Linked DNA regions of Homo sapiens: all the other regions are linked to region 2. The links are contacts of gene promoters, found by promoter capture Hi-C in blood cells and fetal thymus (Javierre and others, 2016). All regions are on one chromosome and are shown on one strand. Each heading gives the region's core, a stretch centred on a gene start or on the middle of the fragment in contact. The rest is flanking DNA. Distances are from core to core; before and after follow the strand shown. Region 1 overlaps LINC01478 (long intergenic non-protein coding RNA 1478). Region 2 holds the start of SETBP1-DT (SETBP1 divergent transcript). Region 3 overlaps SETBP1 (SET binding protein 1).

The links. Contacts are between HindIII fragments. The CHiCAGO score rates a contact against its expected background, and 5 or more counts as called.
Region 1: a contact is called between a fragment that was not itself captured here and the fragment with the promoter of SETBP1-DT in region 2, in 1 of 17 cell types (M2 macrophages). The highest score is 6.5, in M2 macrophages.
Region 3: a fragment that was not itself captured here is called in contact with the fragment with the promoter of SETBP1-DT in region 2 in 4 of 17 cell types (M2 macrophages, M0 macrophages, M1 macrophages and 1 more); the score reaches 7.9 in M2 macrophages.

What each region holds. Positions count from the first base shown.
Region 1 is chr18:44,507,217-44,510,333 of GRCh38, forward strand. All of the region lies in intron 2 of LINC01478 (long intergenic non-protein coding RNA 1478), which reads right to left. Among named protein-coding and RNA genes, the nearest start is that of LINC01478, 23 kb to the right of the region's middle. The HindIII fragment of the contact is 1,317 bases long and covers 1,166-2,482 here.
Region 2 is chr18:44,678,505-44,681,727 of GRCh38, forward strand. SETBP1-DT (SETBP1 divergent transcript) reads right to left here and starts at 1,368. Exons shown (of 2, transcript NR_187430.2): 1 at 1,112-1,368; 2 at 1-385. It overlaps SETBP1 (SET binding protein 1), which reads left to right and starts at 2,384. Exons shown (of 6, transcript NM_015559.3): 1 at 2,384-2,517. RefSeq lists silencers at 509-1,148, 1,819-2,068, 2,209-2,258. The HindIII fragment of the contact is 7,071 bases long and covers 1-2,183 here.
Region 3 is chr18:44,889,380-44,892,337 of GRCh38, forward strand. All of the region lies in intron 3 of SETBP1 (SET binding protein 1), which reads left to right. Among named protein-coding and RNA genes, the nearest start is that of MIR4319, 79 kb to the right of the region's middle. The HindIII fragment of the contact is 4,115 bases long and covers 1-2,958 here.

The sequences.
Region 1 (3,117 bases), core at 574-3,073, 170 kb before region 2:
AATGCAGTGCTGAAAAACAATTTATATTCCTAGTTGCTACTCAGACAACTACTTCCACTCAATACCACTGGAATGAGACAGGTGGGCAACATCAATCTTCTCCCCTGGAACTAGTAGATATTAACCAACCTCTAGAGGCAGAAAGGGGCTCCAAAATTTGCTAATAGAAGGGTAAAGCTTAACTGAGATAGAAAGCTGGCTAGATACTGAGCCTTCAGCAAAGAAGATGGGGGCAATGATACAGAGGGAAATTTTCGTTGTGGGATGTAAGATCAGAAATGATGAATGGTCAAAGAACTTTTGCCAAAATGGCCTAGACCCTAAACACATTATTTTCTCTATTTTTCTCCATAGTAAATTTAAGCACTTGATTAGTGTCTCATCAACAATATCATATCACAATTCACCAGTGGGTTACTACAGAGGTTGTCTGATATGATATCTCAGGAAATAGTGATGTAATACTGAGTTTCTATGACTCCCTTTTATTAATGACTGACTTCTCATCTCATGGTTTGTATATTGAGCATCATGGGTATTGTTAACTGTCCCTGGAACCTGATCTTCACACGGAGTCAGAATATGTGCTCTCTGAGAAGGTTAATCACACAAACGCTCTTTGACTTCTTTCTCATGAATGCCACATCCTCCTCAGAACCAAGCCCACGACTGACTGACAAGCCCAATGGAGAAAGAGCAGAAAACAGGAAAACATGTATTACACATTGCCCTGCATTCATCAGACTGCCCTTCAGAAAGGGGAAATAACAAAGAGTGAATGGTGGGAAGTCATTTTATCTGCTAGAAAAATATGCCCTGTTCCCTACTCAAAAAACAAGTGGTTGTGAAGCAACCGCATTATTTAAAGCTACAAGGCAAACAGGAAGAGGCAAACCAAACAGGCAGACCCTGAGAACTTCCCGCAAGTGCTCCCCTCAGCTGGGCTGGTTTGCAGTCTGATGGGCATGCTGACAGGCTCCAGTGGTTGCTGTGAACCCAGAGCATTCTTGACGAGAAAGGAAAGAGGAAAAGAAAGTGCCAGTTCCTCTTTAGCAAGCTATTTGGAAAACATTTGCTAATTCAAAGGAATAATAATGATTTCTAGAACCAACAACCATTAGTGTAAGCATTAACATCTGAGAAAGAAACCCAATGCTAAAATGCAAGCTTGAAGAGTAAGGAATTGCCCAAGAATAGGAGGTAGAAGAAAGTTGTCTACAAAACCCAGAAGAAAGGTGGTGCTTAAAATTAATTGACAACACAAGTGACTATACTGGCCAAAGAATGATCATTGGAACTTTAAAAGTTTACAGGTTGGGCTCAATGAGTCCCCAGTTTTGAAATATTTGATATGAGCGGACAGATATTCCAGGAACTGTGTGGGATGACACTCTTGGCCTCAGCTCCCCATTTTAGCCACATTTGAAATACCTAGAACTATATCTCAAGATAGCCTCTGAGCTAAGTTGTTATTTTGTTGCTTCACAACTCAACCTCAGTTCTGAGAACAGAAGTAGATAAATGTTGTGGCCACAAAGCAATTCAGGTATTATTCTTAATCCTTACCATGGTCTAAGAGTTAAGCGTCAATGTCATCATCTTACAAACGAGGGTACTGACACTTGGATAATTGTCCCACCATCAGAGAGTCAGTTACAGCGAAGTCCATCTGATGATATACCCCCTCTTTCTTCTGTACCATGGGATAAAACACATTTAGGGGACAGTAGAGAGATGATGCCCCTAAATCATCATTTCTCATGGCAAAGAAACAGAATTTTCTTTGGGCCAGAGTGAGCAGTCACAGGGGACAAGTCCTACCCTTGGACATAATGAGAAGTTTGAGTCTGCAGCACTCACAGATCCTAGAGATTCACCAAGAGGTGGGAGCCAAAGACCCTTGCTTTCCAGAGATGGATTACATAGAAAAATGTGCCACTTGGCTGACAGTGATATTAGTGTATGTTTTCCCATTTCTCTCACTCCTCTGACAAGATGTAGTGTCACTGAGAACCAAATTAACACACCGGGAGGCTTTGTCATTAAAGAAATACAAGTTCGCTTTGATTATTGCTGGCAAGAGAGCAGAGTGTGTGGTGCAAACAGCAGTCCTATTCTCAGAACTAATATTCTTGCAGACAGCACAGCTCTGTCTCAGTGTATCTTGAATTGGAAGATGGGGTGTAATTTTTCAAATCTAGAGGGACAAAATGATTTCCAAGCTAGGTACTTAAAGGTATAGGCAGCCATAGATCGCAATGAACACAGCTGTCAATGTTGCCATAATCATAAAAAAAGGGAGAGACAGAAAAAAACGTGAGCAAGGAGGGAGAAAATCACAAGAAGTGTTTCTAGCTATGTATGTATGAACTGAATATGCTATTTGTAAGATTAAGCTAGAAAGACACTTAAGTAGAGGGTAAAAATAAAATGTACTTATATGAAAGAAGTTATCAAATATAATCAGGCAATTTACTGGAAAAGCTTTAAGAGTCTTAATTTCATTGTTGTAAATGTTGTTGTTTGCCTTTGCATTCAAATTAAGGTGTTACCATTTTCGTGTTTTTTTTTTAATTTACTTATATTTGCTGTTTGCTGTTTTGCTGTTTGACTGGAATCTGTTGATTATGGAGAAACTGGTCCTAGACCGGGAATCAAATACCCAGCGTGTTTATTTTCCTCATTCATTACCGTTTAATAGATTATTCTTTGGAGCCTCAGTTTTATCACCTGAAATTTGGAAGAATAATGTCTGTATTGACAACTCTACAGAAGATTGTGTATATCAAATGAGAGAATTAATCAGAGAGCACACTGGACGTGGATTGCCTGGTCTTCCCAAGGCTGGTAGTGTCTCAATATGCACCACACTATTGAAATCACATTGATACCTGGAGAAAAAGGAAGAACAGTGTGGGATAAAGCGGAAATGTAAAAGGGCTGTCCATTCCCTCAGAAATGGATGGTATGTTTTGTTTTGCCACCTGAAATAGCAAAATCATTGAACTCTTCTGAAACCTAATTCACTGCTTACATCCCAAGACTGGAGGACACATCAGCTGTGCCTACATCACATAAAATAAAGATAAGCAGTTCACATAATTGTCTCAATTTATT
Region 2 (3,223 bases), core at 118-2,617:
TGCCCCCGACGTACCTCCAAATCATTCCTCAGTCCAAATAGCCTAAAACTCTCATGAAGAACGTGATAGGAGTCCTCTCAGAATCCGAGTCCTCGGTCAACTTTACCCCAAGTTCTTTGAGCGGAACCATTTGCAGACCTTCCCGAATCCGTATCTATCCTATATTGTTTTACAATGTAGACATGTCTCTGAAGGGTTCCATTCGTGTTTCCCTGAAAAGACCCCCTTTGTAGGCCAAATACAAAAACTCAGAGATTACAAATGCCACCATATTTTGTAAGAACTGAAGACATTCCACTTTGTTCTTCCCACCCTGAAAACAACTGCATGCCAGTCTGCGTTTGTCATCTCTCCGTGTCCTTCCCTTCATCAAGTGTCCAATTCTCTTGAATAACGAGAAAATGCACATGAGATCTGAATGCATACAAGTCGCTTAACAACAACAATAAAATAATAATAATAATTTAAAAAAACCCTGAAAGTGAAATATAATTACCAGGTTAAAAAAAAAATGCGCCCAGTTTCGAGAGCCTATCACAGCTCACGTCTGGGCGCGCAGTACCCCCCCGACACTGCTCCTGTTGTGTCAGATAGTGGCAGTGTTGAGCCCAGGAATACGCGCGGAGCCCGCGGCGATCCCCGCGGCCGCTCAGTCTTCGCGGCGGACTCCGGCGCGCAGGAGCCACTGGGCCGCAAGGGCGCCGGGGAGCGGGAGGGGCGCTGGGGGCGGCAAGGGGTCCCAGATCCCAGGCCACGAACTGTTTTCCTTTTCCCCGGGCAAGAGCCCCGCTCCCTTCAACTGACAGAAATTCACTGGGGCAGGGGGGCGAGTGGGGAGAGAGGTCGCTCAGGGCTCGCTACTGGCTGCGCCTCCCCCGGCTCTGGTCTGGGAAGCGGCTCTGGGCCCTCCGGGCGAGCAGCTTGGGCGCCGGCGCCCCCTGCGAGGAAGATCGCGGGGTGACGGTCGGTACCCGTTCGGCTGGGCCGCGCTGCCGCTCCGATCCACCTCCCTTCCGCGCCCGCGCCCTCCCCCTTCCTTTCACTAGGAGTCCGGGATTCGGAGAGGGCGCGGGAGGCAGGCACACGGGCCCGACCCCACTCCAGCGCTCACCGGGGACGCGGGCGGGCGGCGACGGGACGCGGCGGGGGCGCGGGGCGGGCGCGGCCATGGAGCAGCAGCGGCGGCGGCGGCGGCGGCGGCGGCAACACTAGCGACCGCGGGCGGACGAGCGGGCGGGCAGGGCCGCCGGGCTCAGCGGACCGAACTGCACAGCTCAGCAAAAGCGCCCTCGCCCTCCGCGCGCCGCCTCCTGCGAGCCCAAACCCACCAACATTTTTTAACGCTCCAACCCATCCTTTGAAGAAAAGCAAAAAAAAAAAAAAAAAAAAAAAAAAAAGCAAAAAAAGAAAAAGCATTGATCGGAGAGACGGGGATATATATATATATATATATATATATATATATATAAAATTTTTTTTGGCTCCTGCTAAAATTAGCAGGGCTCGCCGCGCGCCTGTGTGCCAGTGTGTGCGAGTGTGTGTGCGTGCGGGCGTGTGTGTGTGAATGTGATTACTCCAGGACTCCTCGGGCTCCGGAGACGCCATTTTCCCCCTTGATATCTCTCTCCATAAATCGGTGGCGCGGCGGAGGCGGCAGAGTCGGGCGGGAAGCGCGGGGCCGGCCGGGGCGCCCGCCGCTCGCCGCCGCCTCCGCGCGCCCGGGGGCCCCGGCGCCCCCCGAGCTAGGGCGGCCAGCTCGCGGCTCGCCGTTTGACAGATGCTCATCGCCATGGAGTTGCCGCAGCAGCACCTTTGGGGGCTCGGGCGAGCGACGGGAGCCGGGATCTGAGCGAGCGCCGGGGCCAGCGGAGCCGGAGCCGCCGGGACATGGGTGAGCACGCGCGGCGACCTTGGCCCGGGAGCCCGGGCGCCCAGCCTCCCTCCGCGCCGCGGGCCCCCGCACTCCCGGAACCGGGGGCGACGTGTGTGCCCTGCATGCAAAAGTTCACGTCGCCTTGCTGGGTCTTTGACTTTGCACCCGGCGGGAAGGGGGAGACCGGGCCGAGGGGGCGGGATGCCGGTCCGGGCGAGGTTGCAGGAGATGGGCGCGATTCCGGCGGGCCGGCGGGTGGGCGGCGATGCTGGCTCAATTGGAGTGGCTCGTTGGTGGCGGCGATGGTGGAAGCTTTGGGCTGGAGGGCTGGGAGCTTATTGAGTTTCGCCTAATCTGATCTACCCCCCCTCCGCCCCCCGCCTTTTGCACCCTCCCTCGGTCCTGCAGCCGGCTGGCGGGGCTGGCGGGTTTGGCGTTGGTGGAGTGGACTCGGGAGGGGGAGGGGGTAAGGAAAGGGGTGGGAAGGCAGGATTTTTTTTTTCTCTCTTTGTAACTTGCAGGTTAAGTGGAGCTAGAGAGCTACATTGTAACCTAGTTGGATTTTTTTGGGGGGGGAATGTATCAGAATCTAACGTGTCGTTAATAGAAAGAAGAACAGGCAAGAAGTGGTCCAGCCGGCGAAGGTTGGTGTGTGCTTGTGTTGTGCCTGTGTGTTAGTCTTTTTCTTAAAAATCTTAATCAATGGATTTGAGTCTCTTTCTTGTGCTCTCTGGTTTTGGGACTCTGAAAAGATAGGAATTCCCTTAAAAGCAGACGAATGCCTTTTTGAAAGCACGCATTGTGTGCGTTTCTAGAGGAGCCGTGGGCTTGGGAATGAACGGCAGGCTTCCCCGTTCGGTGGTTTCCAGTGGGAAATCACTCCGGAAAGGGAACCCTTCGGTATCGATTTATTGTTTTTGTCTTCCAAACCATTATCTCTTTGACCGAAATACTGTCTGAGAAGTTCCGCAGGGACAAAGTCAGGTAAACTGGACCGGGCAGATCTTTGGCAAGATGGTGATAACGGGGATGCTGTTTTCAGTGTCTGTTTGTGATGGAAGCATTGTTGGGTAATAGCAATTTCTGATCGGTAGAGCATGCTGGTTCTAAAAAAATAAGTTAACTGCCGAAATACTGTCTTCCAGCCCCCCTCCCCTGCACAGTACAGCACCTATTCCCCCCGCCCCCCCATCCAGACCGCTTACTACAAGTCTGAAATCGGATCCAACTGGAAATATTTTCATTGGAGATTGAAAGTTGTGCAATTGGAAATAGATGAGGCTAGAGGTATTGAGAGTGTGGAAGGGGAGTTCTTATTGCCCCCTAATGCTGCATTTATTCTTTATGTGT
Region 3 (2,958 bases), core at 401-2,900, 210 kb after region 2:
TTGAACCAAAAACAACTAAAAGACTTGGATCAGTTAGCTTAGACTGTTTTGATTCCCTGCAGAGTTCAGTTTGGCCCCAGTCATGTGGGGAGTGTAGACTAGAGTCATAAGAAATACTGTCTTTGGATGCTCAAGTCATCTTCTGTTCTAGGGAGCTCAGAGCGTTGCTAAGGGAGTGGTGATGGTGTCTTCTAGGTGTGAGTTGCACTGACTCTCCACCTGAAAGTGTTGACACTGAGGTCCACAATTGTTGCATTCTGCTGCAGAAGTCTTAACAGATAGTTAAATTAAACTATTGAGATGAGGCCTATTGATATACAATTAACCCAAGACAGTTTTCTTAGATATATGTGTATATATACATAGAAAGAACAGATAAATTTGAATGTTGGTAACCCTTGCCGTCTATGTGGGGAAGCCCCAGTGAACAACTTTTACAAATAATTGGCCAATAGAAATTCTTCTGCAATCCCTATTTCTCTAAAAATGTTCTCCCTTTTATTGGATAGTATATTTTCCCAACATTTAATGAAGGATTTTTAAATTCAGTCAGCATTTTTGTTTACTTGTTTACTTAATTAACAAATTAAAATTGTACGTATTTATGATGTACGACATGATGTTTTGATATATGCATCCATGGTAAGGCTGAATCAAGCTAATTAACATCTGCATCACCTAACACATTTTTCATTTTTTTGTGATGAGAATATTTAAATTCTATTTTCAATTTCCAGGTATACAATACCTTGCAAGTTTCAAGGATACCATGCCTTGTTATTAACTATAGTCACTATGTTGTAAAATAGGTTTCCTGAATTTATTCCTCCTAAGTGAAACTTTGAACTCTTTGACCAGCATCTCCTCAAACCCCTCACCCCACCCCCAAGGATGTTTTGTTTTATGTTTTCTTACTGCAGTATCGCCAAATCTTTATGTGAAAAGCAGGACAAGAACGACATTGTGAAACATAAAGGGGCTGTTAGTTCTGTATAACAGTAGATTCTTTTGTGTCCTGGGTTTTTCTCCATCTGAGAGATTGTCCTATTTCTCTTCACCTGATTAGGAAACTCTAGCAGATGGGGAAGGCTCTTCCATGGGAATCTTTTTAGAGGTCAAAGATGGAGTATTTGGAGATGTTTGTATAGATCCTATGGACACGATATATCATCAAGTTATTATTAAAACAAATATGCCCATTTCCTCTATTTAATTTTGAGGATCCCTCAAAATAGCCTCAGCCTACACCTGGAAGAAGGAAAATAAGAAGGTGACCTGTGGACTATAATTTTTTCACCTAGTCTTACACTTGAGAGTGCTTTGTTGCTTAAAAAGTAATTTCCTAATGATTTTTGCATTTTATTTTTGAATAAAACCTGCAACCTCATGAAGGCAGTTACTGTCATTCAAGTTTTTTAACTCTAAGGAACTGAGGATGGAGAGATTAAATGAATTGCCCAAGCTCACAGTGTTAGTAAGTGACCAAACTGGATTGGAATTTACATGGATCTTCTGATTCCAAGTCTAGGGTTCTTGGCAAACACTAAATGCTAAAACATTTGACAAGGAAGGGGTATTAGTCTGTTTCCATTCTACTGATAAAGACATACTGAAGACTGGGCAATATACAAAAGAAAGAAAGTTTTAATGGATTTACAGTTCCACGTGGCTGAGGAGGCCTCACAATTATGGCAGAAGGAGCAAGTCACATCTTACATGGATAGCAGCAGATAAAGAGAGATAGCTTGTGCAGAGAAACTCTCCCTAATAGAACCATCAGATCTTGTAAGACTTATTACTATCACAACACCAGCATGAGAAAGGCCTGCCTCCATGATTCAATTACCTCCCACCAGGTCCCTCCCACAACACGTGAGAATTCAAAATGAGATTTGGGTGGGGACACAGCCAAACCATATCAGAGGGGCACATCAATACAAAATGAAATGAAACAGAAGCACTCATATATTTGATCATCTAGGTTTGATCTACATTTTATTATACACATTCAGTCAGCAAACATTATTAAGTACCTATTGCTTGTAAGGCACTGCAGTGCTTAGATTTTACCTCTGAATATAGGACAGAGGTGGATTATATTGGGCCTCATTATAAGCCAACCTTGGCATGAGTGAAAGTCTTATAATGGGGCTTTGCACCAGCCACAGCTTCTAAAGTCATCATGGGTGAGTCTGTTCCACAAAAGTGAGCCAAGACTACTGTAACTATGCTGTTAACTCAGGCTGCAAATGTTCTATTCCTGAAAAAAAAATGTATTTGAGGCCTGCATGATCTCAACTGGCTGTAAATACCTTTCAGATTTCCTGGGTTATTGCTTAGTCTTCTACTGTTCCTTTCCGTCTTTATCTGACCAATTCAGAGTCCTGCTTCACAAATGCCAAACCATTTTAGTTTCTGTATAATGGAGGCATTTTTTTCCTCTTTAGGTCACATGTCTTTCACAGAGATTTTTGTCATAGATGTCTTGAAATAGGAACTGTAAAAGACATTATTTTTGAACGTTTGAACATTGCTTTTTATTTTCTCAAAGGAGTTTGCACATGATCAACAGATATATTCATCAAACCCACCTACGAGATGAGAAACCCAGACTCAAAAGTTGAGGGGAGGAGAAGTGCTCTACTTTGAGAAGAAACAACAGAAATTAAGCTCAAATGTCTTATAAAATGAATCCTGAATAATCCTTTTACATTCAAACATTTTGACAGTTTTTGGGCATGAGAGGAGGAGTGAGGAGTTTATTTGGAGCCTAAATTATCTCCAAATTGTTTGTTTGCTATTAAAGGGCTGAAAGAGAAGTAAGCAAAACAAAAATAAAATTCCACTGGCTCTCCACTATGGATGAGAAGTTGCACAAAGGCCTAGCTGTTTCGTTGGTGGAGAGCTACATGGCTGCCCAAGTTTTGCAATAGAACTTAGAGAATGGCCTTATATGGG